Regions from separate parts of the Homo sapiens genome. Here region 2 is linked to region 1. The links are contacts of gene promoters, found by promoter capture Hi-C in human tissues and cell types (Jung and others, 2019). All regions are on one chromosome and are shown on one strand. The core of a region is centred on a gene start or on the middle of the fragment in contact, and the rest is flanking DNA. Distances in the headings are between cores, read along the strand shown. Region 1 holds the start of LCOR (ligand dependent nuclear receptor corepressor). Region 2 overlaps TLL2 (tolloid like 2).

Evidence for each region. Contacts are between HindIII fragments. The study calls those that stand out against the background at their distance.
Region 2: a fragment that was not itself captured here is called in contact with the fragment with the promoter of LCOR in region 1 in 1 of the 25 tissues and cell types used here (H1 embryonic stem cells).

Annotation. Positions count from the first base shown.
Region 1 is chr10:96,830,984-96,833,893 of GRCh38, forward strand. LCOR (ligand dependent nuclear receptor corepressor) reads left to right here and starts at 1,315. Exons shown (of 8, transcript NM_001346516.2): 1 at 1,315-1,416; 2 at 2,423-2,496. It overlaps LOC102723665 (a long non-coding RNA gene), which reads right to left and starts at 1,475. Exons shown (of 1, transcript NR_135921.1): 1 at 1-1,475. RefSeq lists silencers at 898-1,197, 1,218-1,267, 1,278-1,997, 2,038-2,097, 2,138-2,377 and enhancers at 1,124-1,838, 1,839-2,554, 2,555-2,910. The HindIII fragment of the contact is 19,511 bases long and covers 1-2,910 here.
Region 2 is chr10:96,485,977-96,488,715 of GRCh38, forward strand. The region is part of intron 1 of TLL2 (tolloid like 2); the gene reads right to left. Among named protein-coding and RNA genes, the nearest start is that of TLL2, 27 kb to the right of the region's middle. RefSeq lists an enhancer at 860-1,359. The HindIII fragment of the contact is 6,246 bases long and covers 1-2,739 here.

The DNA of each region.
Region 1 (2,910 bases), core at 65-2,564:
GGTGGGGGGGAAGGTGCCTTCCTACCCTTGCATTTGCATCTCAAGCCACCCGTACCCGAGGCCCACCCAGTCCATCTGTTCATTGGTAGATACACCATTCCGCCATTCCGCCAGTGGCTGGTGCAGAGAACCAGGACCACCACCTTTGAAAAGACCTAAATCAATACTCCAATGGGATCCTGATGTCAAGTATTTAACGACTTTGCTTTACCTACTACAGTAATTAAAATTAAGTCTTCAAACTTAAATTTAAATTTCTAAAAGCAGGAATGCACTGTCCTTAATCTTAAACACCAAAGGTGGGAGAAAGAGGCCAGAATCCTAGGGTACTAGGCCTACTGGTATAGGGCGATCTCTTCTGCTTTTTTCTTTCCACCCCATTTCTTTTCCCTTTCTCCTTTCGTTTCCCATCTTCTCTCTTCTCGTTCTCTTCGAAGTAACAGTGACAAAATTAAGGTGATTCAATTATTCCAAGAGGCTTGCTCATATAAAATATTTCTCTTCAAGCCCTTTCCTGAAATCCCAAATTAAAGCATTTCCAATAGTCTCTGCTTTAAGTATTCCTAGTTAAGTCTACTTTTGGAAATATTAAATATTCTCACTTTGGCACAATATTCCAAAATTCCTTGAGAAGTTCGCCTACGATCAGTCTTGCTAGTAGAAACCTTTTTTTTTTTTTATTTAAAACGCTCGATTTCCACTTTTTACTAGGTTTCCCAATGTTGGCGATGTCTCCCAATGACTTAATAACGTGTATCCACTTCACCTTTGAAAATCTTAGAGGTCAGTGCATCCACCGGCATCCGGGAATTTATTCTTATTTCTGCTTCTTAAACAGGCTCTGGGGAGGAGCAGTTTCGACGGAGAAGTTCATAGCAGCAGTTATTACGGAACTTGCAACAGTTGGTGCCGGGCGATAGGCAGGTTGGAAGTGATAAATGGGGCTGGCGTAAAAAACAAAAAGCCCCGGGGAGGGCGGGGGCAGCCGTGGCCTTGGGGGACAGTGCGAAGGCGGCGCGGGGCCAGCGGGACTGACTTCCGGCTGTGGGAAGGCGCCGTCCCGGGCGGCCAGAGGCGGCGGCAGCCGCGTAGAAGGACGGCGGGATCGCAGCCCGGCGGGCGGCGCGCGGGGCGGGTGAGCGGGCCCAGGCCGCCCCCGGGCCACGCCGGGGCCACGGTGAGGTGAGGCCGGCCCTGCCCCCGCACCGCCCCCGGCAGGAGGCGCGACGCCCGGGCCGCGGGTGCGTGCGCGGCCCCGGGCGACGCGGCTGGGCGTGCGCGGGGCCGCGGCGGAGGCTGGGCCGGGCGGGCGGCAGAAGATGGCGAGGGTGTGTAGGCGGCAGCAATGCTCCGTTGAGAGACGCGGCTTTCGGCAAGAACTGGATTCGTGGCGCCACAAGCTCATTCACTGTGTAGGTGAGACCCTCCGCCGACCGCCGCCGCCCCTCCGGCCGCCCCGCCGCCGGTCGCCCCAGACCAGGGAGGAAGCTGGGGAAGTGGCAATTGCTGCTCCGGCCCGCCCGCCCTCTTTGGCTCGAGCGTCCCCCCTTCCCCCACCCCCCGGAGTGTGAGCGCGCGCGACCTCCAGGCGGGCTCCCCTGCTCGGCCGAGCGCGCGCCGGCCCCTCCCCTCCGCGCGCCTCCCCGGGGCTGGCTCTCGGCGGGAGCGCGGGTTCCTCCCCCTCCCGCTCTCCATCCCCGCCTGCTCGCTCCCCTCCCTCCCCGCTCCCGCCCCTGCTCCCGCTCCAGGCCCGGCGCCCCGGCGCCGCCGCCGGCTTATTGTGGCGACTCGCCTCGCGGCGCTGCCGCTGTACTGGGGGAGGCGCGAGGGGCGCGGGCGTGCTCGGCCCCCACCCGCGCTGTGGCCGCCGCCGTCCTCCTCCTGCGCCACCCCTCCCCCACGCGCGGGGCGCGCCCCCGGGTCTGCGTGCACGCGCGGCGGGCTGCAGGCGGGCGCCCGGCGCTCGGGCGTGTGCGAAGCGTGAGGTGGAGATGGGGGCGGAGGGAGCTGGAGCTGTCACAGTCCCCGGGTGCGCCTGACCGAGCCAAGTGGGGTGTCATGGCCGCGGGGGGCAGCGGCTGCACTTCCTCAGCGGGCGGCGGTGGCCGGGGAGTTAATCCTCGACGCACGGGTCGGTGTGTGCGTATTTGTGTTCGGTGTCGTGCTGCGGGAGGAGGGGGTGGGACCGGGTCCGACCGAGGAGCCCCGGCGGGGGTCGCTCTCGTCCCCTCCCGGGGATTGGCCGGAGCCGCAGCCTCGCCCGAATGCCCCGTCCGCCCCCCGCCTCCCGGACCTTGGGCCGCCCTCGGGTGGCTTTTTCCCTGCGGGCCGGAGGGAGCGCGGACGGGGGCGCCCCGGGAGGGGCCGGGCGGCCGAGCTGCGCCTCTCACACTGTGTGTTTTGTCTGTTTTTCTCTCCCAAGGTCCCGTTTCCCTCTGTGCGGCGGCCGGCGGGACCATAAGGGCTTAACTCATATATTTAACCCCCCTCCAAAAAGTAAGTGGCCCGTGTGGTGTCTCCGCTCCGCCCGCCGCCCCCTAGCCCCAGTCCATCCTTGTGTCTGACTCTCCTGTCCTCCAGCATTGTTACTTCCCCGTCTTTGCTTCGGTGCTGCTGGTGTGTGGGGAGATGCCCTCTCGTCGTCCGCTGTCCCCCACGCCCAGTCCTCGGGGAGGCCCAGAATTCCAGCCCCTTCTCCCCCAGGGGAATATTCTTGGGAACCAGGTCTTTCCCGGCAGAATCTAGGAGAGTCTATCCGTTCGCTTGGGCCCCTCATTCCCTCCTTCCCGACAGGGTTTCGTTGGAAGGAATTATGCAAATCCTGCTTTCTGGTGTCCATTCAGCGGCAATTTCATGCGGTGAGAAGTTCTCTTTGTTGTGCGAGGGGGAGAACAGACACTGATTTAATAG
Region 2 (2,739 bases), core at 215-2,714, 340 kb before region 1:
CAGGGGGTGGGAGAAGGGAACAGATGAACGGGCACTGGGAAAACCACCCAAGCCAAGGAAGTTACATAGTGGTCTTCCAACTTCTGTGCTCACATGTTCCTGAATCATTTTGAAAAGCTACATATCCCTTTGTTAGCCTGACACTTCAGATTTTTCACGATAAGTTTAAATACTTATTTTGCTCATGAAAAGAAAATAATAAGTATTTTATAAGACGAGGATTGACTATACGTGGAATAAATGTTTCATGATATGGTTTGGTAAAATAGGTTTAACTACCTTTTGGAATAGCATGCTGAAACCAAAAGAAAACAAGAAAAATGTTCATCCTGGGTTTTATCCATATAGTTTGAAAAATTTAGAGGTCCAGGGAGCATTCTAGTTATACTTAAGAGAATCACTATCATTAACTACCCTACTTCAGTTGTTCTGAAATCAAAATATTCCTCCCTGCCCCAAGCATTTCCCTTAATAGAAATTCCTATAGATGAGAAGAGACAGAAGAGCTGCAGGTCTAAGACACTCTGGCTCCTCATCGAAGAAGGCTGCTCTATAACCAACCATTTCTCATTTTTCCTTTGACACTCGGGGGTTTTGTACACAGTGGGATTCCAGATGGGTGACAGGTAAGCCTCTCTCCCATGAAGTGCAGGAAGGGCCACGTGCCCAGCATCCTCCTGCTGTCTTAGTATAGAATCCCAGATGCATGCTTCAGAACCTGGAAGTTCACTCCCTTGAACCATCTGTAGAGAGCACCCCTGGGAAGTCCAATGCCCCTGCACACCACAGTTTGAAGGCGGAGCATGGCAGAGGGGCCAAGCAGGGCAGAGCAGCGGGGGCCGCTCTGCAGCAGCCCCTTCCCAAAGTCACAGGGCTGCTGGGAAACTCCTCCCACACTGTCCCCTGGGCCTGCTCAGCTGGCTTCGTCTCCATCTCCTCATGTCCAGTGCTCAGGCGTCCTCCTGACACCAAAGGGTGGGAGCCCCAGGCTGATTCCCTTGCAGGGAAATCCTTTACGAAGGCACTTTCTGCCTGCAGTCTTCGTATTGTTCACCTGGGGAGGCAGGCTCATTAAAAGCATGTACTTTTAAGCCAGAAAGACCTGGGTTCCAATCCCAGTGCCATCACTGAAGAGCTGTGTGACCTCGGGTAACTCACTTGGTCTCTCTGAGCCATGGTTTCCTCATCTGGAAATAGAGGTGCCTACCTGGTAGAAGTGTGTGAGAATTAAACAACATGAGGTCTGTTAAGCAGCCAGTGCCAGGCCTGGCCTGTGGCAAGCATGCAGTGAAGAGTGGTACCTCTCCAACCTCCACTTTGCTCCTCCTGGTTCCTGTCTCTCTCCCTCCCCCACCTGTCCTCATCCAGAAGACCCCACCCTGCAAAACTCAACTCAGCTTCCATCACCACTATTTGCCCTCCCACCCCGACACACTCTTTCCTTTCTCTGTATTCCTTTAGGACAAATGGTCTCAACCAGACAATATTAACCAGACAGCGGGGGCTAAATCATGCTGCTATACTCATCTAACACTTACTGAGGCAGCACACGCCAGGCATTGGCAGGGGTAGGGGTGGGGGTTGAAGTAGGTGGAGTTGGGGGAGGGAGAGGAGATCATGTTCTCTGTAATGCTTTACAGTTAACACTGGATTGTACACAGGCATCGCTTCTTTTAGTTTTTGCATCAACGCATATTGGTCTCGTTCCACTTTTACCGATTAAGAACCTGAGACTCAGAAAAGAGAATGACTCGCCTGGGGTCACAGGGCCAGCAAGCAGCAGAGCCAGAACCCCCAAGCCAGGGTTCTTCCCAGTCCCGCAGCGGCTTCCTAAGCTCTTAGCATCTACTCAACTTCCCAGATTGTGCCAGAGTCTAAACGCCATGACAACAGGCTCCCATGTACATTTCACTTGTGAAATCCCATTTTATACTCGCCAAGGAAAGTCATCACACGGTGCAGTATGGGCCCAGTGGCTGACGGTGAAGGAACCGAATCAGATAGCCCCCAGCTCACGTCCTGCCTGGGAAGCCTTGGACAAATAACTTTACCTCTCTAAGCCTCAGTTTCTTCATCTTCCAAGTGTGAATAAAGAGTCATAATATCTTCCACATGGGGTTGTTGCGAGCATCAGCTGAGATAATGCGGATCCATGCTCAGCACAGAACTGGCACCAGGCCCCACTCAGCAAATATGAGATGGAGGAGCTGCACCCTGCAGGCACTGAGGTCACCGGCCATGGCCCACATCAGTGTGATGTGTAGTGAGCTAAGAGACGTTTTTACAGGTTTGATCCCTTTGGGAGGCACTGACTTAGCGCTTGCGTGCCCAGCCCAGGGCAGCCCTTACCGACAACAGCTGCAAGAGGGCATGGCCTGGCCCTTCCGCAGCACCTGCGGGAAGCCCCCATGGTGTGGGACTGGATCCTAGCCCACCTCAAGGCCCAGAGAGCCCCTTCCCACGCCAGCCCGGGCTCCCACACTGCGGTCCTGCAGACTCTTCCCTTGTGTTCTACAGATCTTGCCCCAGGATCCCATGGACAGTTCCTGTGGATCAAAGACAGTCCAAGAAGGCCACGTGCCCTTCACTCAGAGGGGACACAGCCCATAGCATGAGTCAGCGCTGCCCCTTAGGCTCACAGATACAGCCTTCAAGCAAGAGTGGCTGCACCCCAGAACACAGGTCCAGAATGTCAGCTGGAGTCTCCAAGCCACCACCGCCTTCCATAGACAGCAGCAT